Regions from separate parts of the Homo sapiens genome. Here region 1 is linked to region 2. The links are contacts of gene promoters, found by promoter capture Hi-C in blood cells and fetal thymus (Javierre and others, 2016). All regions are on one chromosome and are shown on one strand. Each heading gives the region's core, a stretch centred on a gene start or on the middle of the fragment in contact. The rest is flanking DNA. Distances are from core to core; before and after follow the strand shown.

Region 1 (5,933 bases), core at 159-2,658, 7.1 Mb before region 2:
AGCTATGACTATACTACTGCACTCAGCCTGGGCAACAGAGTGAGACCTTGTCTCTAAAAAAAGTTAAAAAAAAATTTTAATTATGACTACAGAAAAGATAAAAAATAATGTTTATATAACACCACCTAATTACTAATCTCTTCAAATAATCATAGTATAAAATAATGCTCTAATAGCAATCTACAAGAGGTGCCTTTCTATAACTCTTCAGTGCATCATAATGCACTGAAGTATTTGAACAATTTGCCATATGAACAGGTGGGTAAGAATTGTGGAGAAGAACAATAGGGGGCCACTGGGAGGAAATATGTACCAGCATGGCGGGTCATGTAACTGGGAAAACCCAGTCAAGATATTTCAGGCCAAGGAAAGAAAATGTTCTCATGACCTAGAAGCAAAGGTAATTGTATGTGTATGTATTTAAAAAGTATGTATAAAAAACCTCACCTGAACCTTGATTTCTAAACATGCAAAAATCCTTTTCTCCTCTTCAAACTCCTTCTTAGAAATCTGGCAACCTGGCAGCACTGGGGGAAAAAACAGTAACATGAGACATCAGCATTTCTAGCGCGTCACAGACTTAATTAAAAAAGAAAAAGAAGAGCAAAACACCCTCTGGGGCCACTTCTGCCTTCATCCACACAAAACCAAACGGAATGAAAAGGGAGGCTAGAGTCTGTCTCTGTGTTGAGGGCAATTCTTGGGGACAGAGGTCTGCTTGCAATGGCTCTGAAACATGTAGCTCACCACCAAAGAGCTCCTAGAGGCCCCTCTTCTAGGAATCCCACCTCTAGAACTTCCCCATCAGGTCTTGACAAGATCCTGTCCCGCGGACACTTCCAGATCTAAAATTCTCATCCTTCTTGCTTGAAACGTTCATTATGGGGCTTAGCATAGACTTCTTTCTTGCGGTCATTTAATTGTGGCAGGCCCGAAGACAGGCTAAAGGGAACCTAGAGCATTTGGTCAAAGCAAATCACATTTACAAATACGGCCACGCACCCTGTCAGCCCGTCACACATTCACAACTGCACCCACCTCCGTGGGGACACGCCCCGTCCCTGCCACGCCGTCTGAGACACACTGTCCCTCGGCTGCTCGCGTGCACACAGGCTTGAGGATCCGGACACGACACGCTCTGTCCGTGACCCAGCCCTCCCCACCTCCAGCACCCCCGATGCCACCCCCACCCTCACTGCCGGTTCCAGTCGGGCCCCAGTAAAGCCAGCCGAGCCCTCCCAGCTTCACCCGGGCTGATTACTTCTACAGACACGACCAACTCACCATGCAGAGTCCAAGAACCTTAAGGACACCGGAAAAGGACCCAGAGACCTGTGGTTAGTTTGGACCCAGAGGCTGATGGGAAACAAGAGCCTGGAAATGCTCGCAGGCTGGGAGAGGAGCTTCTGGCAGGCAAGCTCGCCCCGCCCCTAAAAGGCCTGTGCCCCGGAGACTTCTGGGAAATGTAGTCCACAGCGGCAGAGTCTCCGGAAGTTGAAACCTGGACAGCAGGGATGCTCCCAGCATGCAACTTGGCTTCACCTGTCAAAGGCGCTTTTTTCGAAGACGCCCGGGAGCTCTTGCTTTTGCTTGAGGGTCTTTGGTGTTGACTGAGAGCGAATTAAAAGGTTCTCAGCTTTCGCTAAGGAACGCATTCTGGAGTCTAGAACAGGCGAAGATGGGACTGGGGTGTCTGGGGACTTAGACGTGAGCGAGCAAGGGAATCCGGGGTAAGTTCGCTGGAAATGACCTGCGCGACACTACCAGTTTACCTGGGTATGAGCGCCTGGAACAGTGTCTGGCAATTGAACAGATGGGTGTGTCTTGCTGTGAGGGAGTTTCTTAGTTCGATTCGGTGTCTGGGACCCTGCGTGGACCTGTTTATGTTCATGGGATGTTTTCTAAATTTATGCCTGTGTGAGTCTGTTTTATTAGGTGTGAGATGAACTGTGTTACAGATTTTATATGCCGCTGTTGAAAGACAACAATAAGTGGTAGTGAGTGGATATTGTGACCGTGGAGACTTATGGCAGTGCAAAGGCGGCCATAAACAATGCACAAGCAATCCAGCATGGCTGTGTTCCAATAAAACTTGATGGATTATAAAATTTGAATCTCATTTTTTATAGAGTATGAAACCATTTATTCTGAAGCACACACTCATACTCCAAAAACAATACTATATATTCCCTCTCTCTCTCTCCTGTGTGTTTGCGTGTGTGTGTGTGTGGGTGTGTGAGAGAGAGAAAGGTTTTAAAGGAGACAACTAACTGATTCTGAGGTTAGGGCAAAAAGATTGGGGCTGTGGTTGGTGTGGTAAGAACCTTTGGATATAAATACTTTTTTAAAAAAGAATTGTCTAAAAATATTAAAGCGAAATTTTATATTAAAACTAACAGAAAGAAAAGGAAGTTACTTTTTAGGGGCTCTTTCTGGTCACTGATATCACCTCTCTCATCCTCTGCCATCTCTCACCTCCTGGTCTCTCTTGCTTATCAAGAGAAGACTAGAGCTCTTGGATCCCAGCTTTTCCCCTGCCTCAGCTGAGGCCACTACCCTGGTTGACTCCCATGGTGACATGGATGCCTCATCCAGTATCGTGGGTCTGAGTCCTCATCTGCAGGGTCCTTGAGCTTTCCTCGGCACCCATCCCCGTTTCCCATCTGGGACTTCATTATCATCAGCATCTGCTCCACCTCCAAAACCACTGGTGGAAGCAGCCTCCTCTCTTCCCATGTTACTTGCTCAATGACTCCCACAAGTACTACTCTGAATATTTTGGGGGTCTGATTTTTTTTTAATTTTTTATTTCCATAGGTTTTTGGGAAACAGGTGGTGTTTGGTTACATGAGTAACTTCTTCAGTGGTGATTTGTGAGATTTTGGTGCACCCATCACCTGAACAGTGTACATGGCACCCAATTTTTAGTCTTTTATCCCTCACCCCCTTTCCACCCTTTCCCCCAAGTCCCCAAAGTCCACTGTGTCATTCTTAGGCCTTTGCATCCTCACACCTTAGCTCCCACTTATGAGTGAGAATATACGATGTTTGATTTTCCATTCCTGAGTTGCTTCACTTAGAATAATAGTCTCCAGGCCGGGCATGGTGGTTCACACCTGTAATCCCAGCACTTTGGGAGGCTGAGGCAGCTGGATCACCTGAAGTCAAGAATTCAAGACCAGCCTGGCCAACATGATGAAACCCTGTCTCTACTAAAAATACGAAAATTAGCCGGGCACGCTGGTGGGTGTCTATAATCCTAGCCATTCAGGAGGCTGAGGCAGGAGAATTGCCTGAACCTGGGAGGTGGAGGTTGCAGTAAGCCAAGATAGCGCCATTGCACTACAGCCTGGGCAACAAGAGGGAAACTCCATCTTAAAAAAAAAAGGAAAAATAAATAAATCCAGGCAAATGCATTAATTCATTCCTTTTTATGGCTGAGTAGTATTCAACTGTATATATCTACCACAGTTTCTTTATCCACTCATTGATTCATGGACATTTGGGTTGTTAAGCATTTTTGCAATTGTGAATTCTGCTGCTGTAAATATGTGTGTACCAGTATCTTTTTTGTATAATGACTTATTTTCCTCTAGATACCCAGTAGTGGGATTGCTGGATCAAATGGTAGTTCTACTTTTAGTTCTTTAAGGAATCTCCACACTGTTTTCCATAGCGGTTTTACTAGTTTACATTCCCACCAGCAGTGTAGAAGTGTTCCCTGTTCACCGCATCCACGGCAACATCTATTTTTTTTTCCATTATAGACATTCTTTCAGGAGTAAGATGGTATTGTACTGTGGTTTTGATTTGCATTTCCCTGATCATTAGTGATGTTGAGCATTTTTTCTTATGTTTGTTGGCCATTTGTATATTTTCTTTTGAGAATTGTGTATTCATGTCCTTAGCGCACTTTTTGATGGGATTGTTTGTTTTTCTTGCTAATTTGAGTTCTTTGTAGATTCTGGATATTAGTCCTTTGTCAGATGTACAGATTGTGAAATTTTTCTCCCGCTCTGTGGGTTGTCTGTTTACTTTGCTGACTGTTCCTTTAGCCACGCAGAAGCTCTTTAGTTTAATTAAGTCCCAGGCCCTTTGTTTTTATTGCGTTTGCTTTTGGGTTCTTGGTCACAAAATCCTTGCCTAAGCCAATGTCTAGAAGGCTTTTTCCAATGTTATCTTCTAGAATTTTTACAGTTTCAGGTCTTAGATTTAAGTCCTTAACCATCTTCAGTTGATTTTTGTATAAGGTGAGAGATGAAGATCCAGTTTCATTCTCCTACATGTGGCTAGCCAATTATCCCAGTGCCATTTGTTGAATAGGGCGTCCTTTCTCCACTTTATGTTTTTGTTTGCTTTGTTGAAGATCAGTTGACTGTATTTGGGTTTATTTACGGGTTCTCTATTCTGTTCCATTGGTCGATGTGCCTATTTTTATACCAGTACTATGCTGTTTTGGTGACTATGACCTTATAGTTTGAAATCAGGTAATGGGATGCCTCCATTGCTTTGTCTTGCTTTGGCTATGCGGGCTCTTTTTTGGTTCCATATGAATTTTAGGGTTGTTTTTTCTAGTTATGTGAAGAATGATGGCAGTATTTTGATGGGAATTGCTTTGAATTTGTAGGTTGCTTTTGGCAGTATGATCATTTTTACAATCTTGATTCTACCCATCCATGAGCATGGGATGTGTTTCCATTTGTTTGTGTCATCTATGATTTCTTTTAGCAGTGTTTTGAAGTTTCCTCGTAGAGGTCTTTCACCTCCTTGGTTAGGTATATTCCTAAGTATTTTATCTTATTTTATTTTTGCAGATGTTGTAAAAGTTGTTGAGTTCTGGATTTGATTCTCAGCTTGGTCGCTGTTGGTGCATAGAAGAGCTACTAATTTGTGTACGTCGGAAACTTTGCCGAATTGGACTACATTTCTAGAAATGGATTCCTGAATTAAAAGAGATGCTTCTCTTAAATATTTATGTAAAGTTACTCTCAGAAAGGTTGTAAGTGGATTCCTCCCACCAAAAGTATTGTGAATGAATATCTTCTTAAAATTTACAATTGTTTTGACCATTTCCCAGTCCTTAAACCAATGATAACATTTTATTTTCTTTTTCTTTTTTCTTTTCTTTCTTTCTTTTTTTTTTTTTTTTTTGAGACAGAGTTTTGCTCTAGTTGCCCAGGCTGGAGCAATGGCACGATCTTGGCTCACCGCAACCTCCACCTCCCAGGTTCAAGCGATTCTCCTCCCTCAGCCTTCCCAAGTAGCTGGGACTACAGACATGCGCCACCAAGCCCAGCTAATTTTGTATTTTTAGTAGATATGGGGCTTCTCCATGTGGGTCAGGCTGGTCTTGAACTCCCAACCTCAGGTGATCCGCCCACCTCAGCCTCCCAAAGTGCTGGGATTACAGGCGTGAGCCACTGCGCCCGGCCTTTATTTTCATAATATTTCCATGTCTTTTATTTCTCATAAGCTTACATATGCATTCAAGTATTTATTGGTCATTTTCAATTTTTCCTTCTAAGAGTCTATATTCTTTACCTATTTCTACACATTTTTGTATTCATCTATATGTTGATTTGTTTTAAATTTATTATCTGTTTGTTGTATCTGAAATATTTTCCCTTAGTTTATTTGCTACTTAAATTTGAGGGAGGCAGGGAAGTTTACTGAAACATACTTTATATTTTCTATAATTTATTAACTATTTACTTCATAATTTGTGTTTTGGCTGTCAAGCCTACAGACCAAAATTATAATAACATCAATTTGTAATTTGATAAGCACTCTGGTAGTCTATTTTTAAGTTATACATGTCGTGAACATTATTTGTTTTAATGTGTGAGGGATGGAAGTTACTTTATTTTTCCAGGTGGTTAACTAGTTAACACAGATTATTGCTTTTCTGTAATACTTTTACTGAGATATAATTC
Region 2 (5,541 bases), core at 1,520-4,019:
ACTCAAGCAGTGCACACACCTCAGCCTCCCAAAGTGCTGGGATTACAGGTATGAGCCACCAAGCCCCACCAAAAGTCCTATTTTAAAATGTGCTCTTTAATAACATATCATGTAATTAGTAAAGTCACTTCCTTTGTATCTCTTATTTTTGATGACCACTGTAAATAAGTCTTTTTCCCCATACTTTCCACATACACACACACCCCCTATTTATTTGTTAATGTTTTTTCCAACAACCCTGAGTTTTCTAATTGTTATCACTGTTCAATTTTTAATAGGATGAAAACTTAGAAATATTTCTGCCTCAGCCTCAGCTGATATCCCAAAGATAGCAAATGAAACAAAATTCTAAGAGAACTTCATTCAAGAACAGGATCTTATAGAGCTGTTGAGTGTAAAATTTTGCTATCATTAAACTCCTCCTTTAAAGACAGTGGAGAGGCTGAGAGAGGAGCATGTATTTTTAAGAGACTGTTATTTTTAGAACAGTGTTTTTCCAGGGGGAAAAACGTGAGTGATTCTCCCTTTTTTACAACACACAAGGGGTCCCTCAGACCCTGAGGCCACCAGGAACCAAAGTGGTGAGAGAATTCTTGGCAAAAATTTTACATATTTCTAAGATTTGGGAGGGCAAAGTGACTGAGGTGGCTAATTCTCACCTTAGCACTAGGTGAAGACCCCATGGGTGGAGGCTGTCTGGGTTGTCTTGGGTCCTATCAAAGAGGAATGACTGGACAAACCCACCCACCAGAGTCGGTGGGCCACTGAATGCCCAGAGGAAGCACTGGGGCAGCAGCTGGAGAAGAGGCTATGCCCATGAGAAGGGAAGTGTATCTGGAGGTTCCAAGCAGCAGGTTCTCTTGGAAGGTAAGAGATGACTTACACTAAATTATAGTGGTATCAGTCATGTTAGCCTCTTCTTGTCTCTGACTTCTGTCTTCTCATTCCTTTCCCAGCTCCCAATCCATGAGAGCTAAAGACTGCCTATAGGGAGTAAAGAGGAGACAAAATAAAGGTTGGGGAATTAGAGAAGAAACTAATCATGTATCCTTTCACATTTCAGGCTTCCAGCAGAAGAAATTCATCCAGCAAAAAAAAAAATAAATACACACACACACACACACACACACACACACACACACACTCTCAAATAGGAATTTTGAGAGTGGCAGTTATGAGATAAAGTTTTTTTCTGTGTGGTCCCAGTGGTATTCTATTCATTTAAGCATATCAGTCATCAGTCAATACCAGGTTTCCCAATAAATGATCTTTTTTGGAAGGGAAGGGACGGAGTCTCGTTCTGTCGCCCAGGCTGGAGTGCAGTGGCGCGATCTTGGCTCACTGCAACTTCCACCTCCGAGTTCAAGCGATTCCCCTGCCTCAGCTCCCGAGTAGCTGGGGCTACAGGCATGCGCCATCATGCCCAGCTAATTTTTATATTTTTTAGTAGAGACGGGGTTTCACCATGCTGGTCAAACTCCTGACCTCAGGTGATCTGTCCGCCCCAGCCTCCCAAAGTGCTGGGATTGCAGGCGTGAGCCACCGCGCATGGGCCCAATCTTTTTTTTTTTTTTGAGACGGAGTCTTGCTCTGCCACCCAGGCTGGATTGCAGTGGCACGATCTCGGCTCACTGCAAGCTCCGCCTCCCGGGTTCACGCCATTCTCCTGACTCAGCCTCCCAAGTAGCTGGGACTACAGGCGCCCGCCACCACGCCCGGTTAATTTTTTGTATTTTTAGTAGAGACGGGGTTTCACCATGTTAACCAGGATGTTCTCGATCTCCTGACGTCGTGATCGGCCCGCCTCAGCCTTCCAAAGTGCTGGGATTACAGGCGTGAGCCACCGCGCCCGGCCCGCATGGGCCCAATCTTACCCTCTGAAAATTATTTTGCCTCTTCCTCTCCATTAAAAAAAAAAAATCACTACTTATTTTACTTGTCTAATTACCAGAGTCAAATTCTACAGGCATATATAAAATGCCCAATACTCATAAATCAATCTAAACAATGCATACTTTAGTCAACACTCGGTTTCTCAAGCACTCCACCTAAGTCACACAGTGTGCCACATTCACAGTCATCATAGGTCGTGTACACCAAATACTTTTAAAATTAGGCATATTCATAGCTGTATCACCCACTACATAGTCATAATCCCATAGGCCCCCACGTCGTGCACAATTTCACAGAACTTCTACAAAAAGTAACAACCTTTCACTCACAATGCCCTCACTGTCGCCTCTCCAGAGTCGGACACAGGCTCAAACACAAATCGACTCGCATCTAATTTAAATTAAAACTTAAGACACGCAGGGACCCTATCACTTTCATAAACAACCGGTTCCACAACGTCACACAGAATAACACATTCCCCTACCACAACACACAGGACAGGTACGAAAAGCCACACACACACACACGGAGCGCCTGTTGTGTGCCAGGCCGTGCTCCAGGAGCCAGGGGACGAAAATCAGACGAAATTCCTGCCACTGGGGAGCTCACCCCCCGCCTCGGGCAACCGGTTCCCTTCTTCAGGTGCTCCCGGGCCCGCGCTCTGGTTCCTGCTTCCCTCCCAGCCTTCTCTGAGGCCCGGACTCGCACTTTCCTCCAGCCAACTCCTCGTCCCAGGTTGCTCCTCTTCCCTTCTTGCTTTCCCCAGCCCAGGCTCCCGCCTCCCTCCTCAGCCTTCCTTACGGGTCACACCGTCACCCGCCTTCTCCGCGCCCGCGGGACCCACCAGCCTCACCTTCGGTTGCCGGCCGGGCGTCTGCGCATGCGCACTCCCACGCGGACGATGCCTCCCAGGTGTCTCCGCGGCGCGTTCCTGCTGTCCACCGGCTACGCGCGCCTTCTCCACATCCGGGCGTTTCCGGCCTTGGACTACATTTCCCACAGGCGCCCGGGCGGTTTTCGAACTTTGATCTCTGGTTCCCCTTCCAAATTCTCATAGTGCGTGGCTGGGATGAGGGCGGCGCTCACGGTGAGGAAGCCCCGAGCTCCCGGGACGCAGACAGGGTGTGCAGGGCCGTAGCTCGGGCCTGTGTATGCACCTGTGCGTGTGTGTTTGATGCCAGGACAAGGCGGCGGTGTGCGCGGCGAGGAGGCTGCGACAGGTGCGTGATTGTGTTCCTGTCCCTGCTCGGATGCGGGACCTTTGGGTGGCCGTGGTCGGCTGTCGGGTGTGTGACACTGTAGGGTTTGAGACCTTCCATCATGACAGTGCTGCTGTGGCCGTGTGATGGAAGAGCCTTTTAGGTCTGTGGTGTTGTGTGTGTAACGGGTAAAGCTTCATTTCTGCAGTGCTGTGTTTAATGTTGGGACTGAGGGGTCTGTCGAAGATCTCCCCAATGTGCCTGTGAGGACTATGATCCATGCCTATGTTAAGCAGAGTCATCTTGCAATGAAGCATGGCCCGCGTTGTCTTCTCAGGGCACACCTGTCCCCAGTTCTCAGCCTGGTGTTTGACACAGGGGATCCTGGCGGAGTGCCCACCTAAGCGGCAGTTTTAGACTCGATTGTTTCTTGGGCTCTGCATCTCTGAGTTCCCAGCTTCCTTTTTTCTCCCGCTTTATAGCTGTATAGACCCCAGCTGCAGTGAAATGGCCATCAAAAAGGGAAGGGATAATCGAGTGGTGGAATAAAATCTGCAAACAGAAAAAGGACAGACCTGTTTTCGGAACGAGGCTTTTCGAGTTGTAAGTGTCCCTTAAGCAGAGTTCTGGGAAGACGTCGTGGGGAGAACCTAGGAGTAGGATTCCTTCCTCAGAGGCTCTCCCTTGGGAACTCTCAGAGGTCAGGTTCCATGTGATCCACATCATTCCCAGAGCTGTCTCCGCAGGAGACTTAACGTGAATTTTGAGAAAGTCCCCAGTCCTGGATATCAGTGACCCTGGCCTTTCCCTTGAATACTAAGAAGGGTTAGCAGTACTCCCATCTCCCTTTTACTTCCATCTGAGTATGTTTATGGTAGATGATGAGAGCTCGTGTGGTGGCAATAATTTTTTCCAATTTAGCCAATCTGGGTTCCAAGAAAGGTCTGATGTCTCATGATTCCTTACCCCTTCTCCCTTGCCTTGAGGTTCTCTAAGAGCCCTGAGGAAAGGGAACCATTGCTGAGCATATCTGAAAACCAAGGTCAAGGAAGTTTTGTTGTATTTTCTATTTTTGTTCTCTTTGATTTTGTTTTTCAGCAAGGGAGTATTTTTTCTCCTCCTGAAATGCTAGTCAGTGGTTAGGTTACTATTAGGCAGGGCCTTGTGAGGTGCTTTGACCAATAGAATGTGGTGGAAGTGATATTGTGAGACTTCTGAGACAAAGCTTCAGGAAGTCTTGCAGCTTTTTCTCTTCCCCTTTTCCTGCCCTGAGACCACCATGACTGAAGGCTAAGAGCAACTTGCTTGCGCATTAAAGATCACTTGGAGAGAGAGGTCCAGTGAGCAACAACGGCCAGAAATTTCAGGGAGACCATCTTGAACCATCCAGCCTCCACCAGGCCAACAGCTGACAGCTGTCACATGAATATGATCAGCAGAAGAACCACTCAGGCAAGCCAAGCCCAAATTGCCAAGCCCCCCAAATAATAAGCTAATTGTTTTTTGTTTTAAGCCATAAACTTTTGAGGTGGTTATATAGCAATAAATAACTGAAACAGGTGTTTAACTTTCTAGACTTTTTAAATGACCATATTGATATAATTGTATTGTTCAACCTGTTTTGTAAAGTGATTTCTCTGATACAGTATCTTGAAAATATTCCTTAACTATTTTCTACAACTTTGCATTTGTCTATCTTAGTATTATATTACATGGATATGTGGTAACTTATTTAACTACTAACTTCCCTTTGCAATTCCTTTTCCTTGCTGTCTAGCTCCCATGTCTTGACCAACTTTGCATTCCCCTCCAGGACCTTATGGGCACATGGGTTCCTATCATTTCACGGGTATGTAGACTCAGGAATGTGGCATTGACTTCTGGGTGGAGTACAGATGACTGACACCCCCACCCCGATTCGGAGGAATTATTCAGGGGTGTGATATAACACCTACATACATTTATTTAACTAGCCAATTTGGTCTCCCCTTTTTTTGTTTTGAGACCGAGTCTTGCTCTGTCGCCCAGGCTGGAGTGCAGTGGCGTGATCTCGACTTACTGCAACCTCCGCCTCCCAGGTTCAAGGGATTCTCCTGCCTCAGCCTTCCGAGTAGCTGAGACTACAGGTGCCCACCACCATGTCCGGATAATTTTTGTATTTTTAGTAGACATGGGGTTTCGCCAAGTTGGCCAGGCTGGTCTCAAACTCCTGACCTCACGTGATCTGCCTGCCTCAGTCTCCCAAAGTGTTGGGATTACAGGCATGAGCCACCTCGGCCAGCCGGGTCTCCCTTTTTACATCTGTTTTCCCCTTTCCAGTTCAAATTCTGTATTCTGGGAACATCTTACTTTCTTCACCCTGATTGATTAGGGAAACTTCAGGGTTCTTAGGTAACTTTCTGAAGGACTGGTTTAAGATTCCTAGAGTTGGAAATGGGCGTCTCTCCTG

What was found. Contacts are between HindIII fragments. The CHiCAGO score rates a contact against its expected background, and 5 or more counts as called.
Region 1: a contact is called between the fragment with the promoter of ZNF283 here and the fragment with the promoter of ZNF567 in region 2, in 5 of 17 cell types (non-activated CD4 T cells, activated CD4 T cells, total B cells and 2 more). The highest score is 10.3, in non-activated CD4 T cells.

Annotation. Positions count from the first base shown.
Region 1 is chr19:43,822,796-43,828,728 of GRCh38, reverse strand. It overlaps ZNF283 (zinc finger protein 283), which reads right to left and starts at 1,408. Exons shown (of 7, transcript NM_181845.2): 1 at 1,285-1,408; 2 at 448-527. RefSeq lists an enhancer at 1,351-1,550. The HindIII fragment of the contact is 6,325 bases long and covers 1-5,475 here.
Region 2 is chr19:36,684,840-36,690,380 of GRCh38, reverse strand. ZNF567 (zinc finger protein 567) reads right to left here and starts at 2,769. Exons shown (of 6, transcript NM_001322917.1): 1 at 2,747-2,769; 2 at 884-984. ZNF567-DT (ZNF567 divergent transcript) reads left to right here and starts at 2,932. Exons shown (of 4, transcript NR_110708.1): 1 at 2,932-3,113; 2 at 3,575-3,695; 3 at 4,366-4,544; 4 at 4,870-4,942. RefSeq lists enhancers at 1,713-2,352, 2,913-2,962 and a silencer at 2,653-2,712. The HindIII fragment of the contact is 4,431 bases long and covers 1-3,288 here.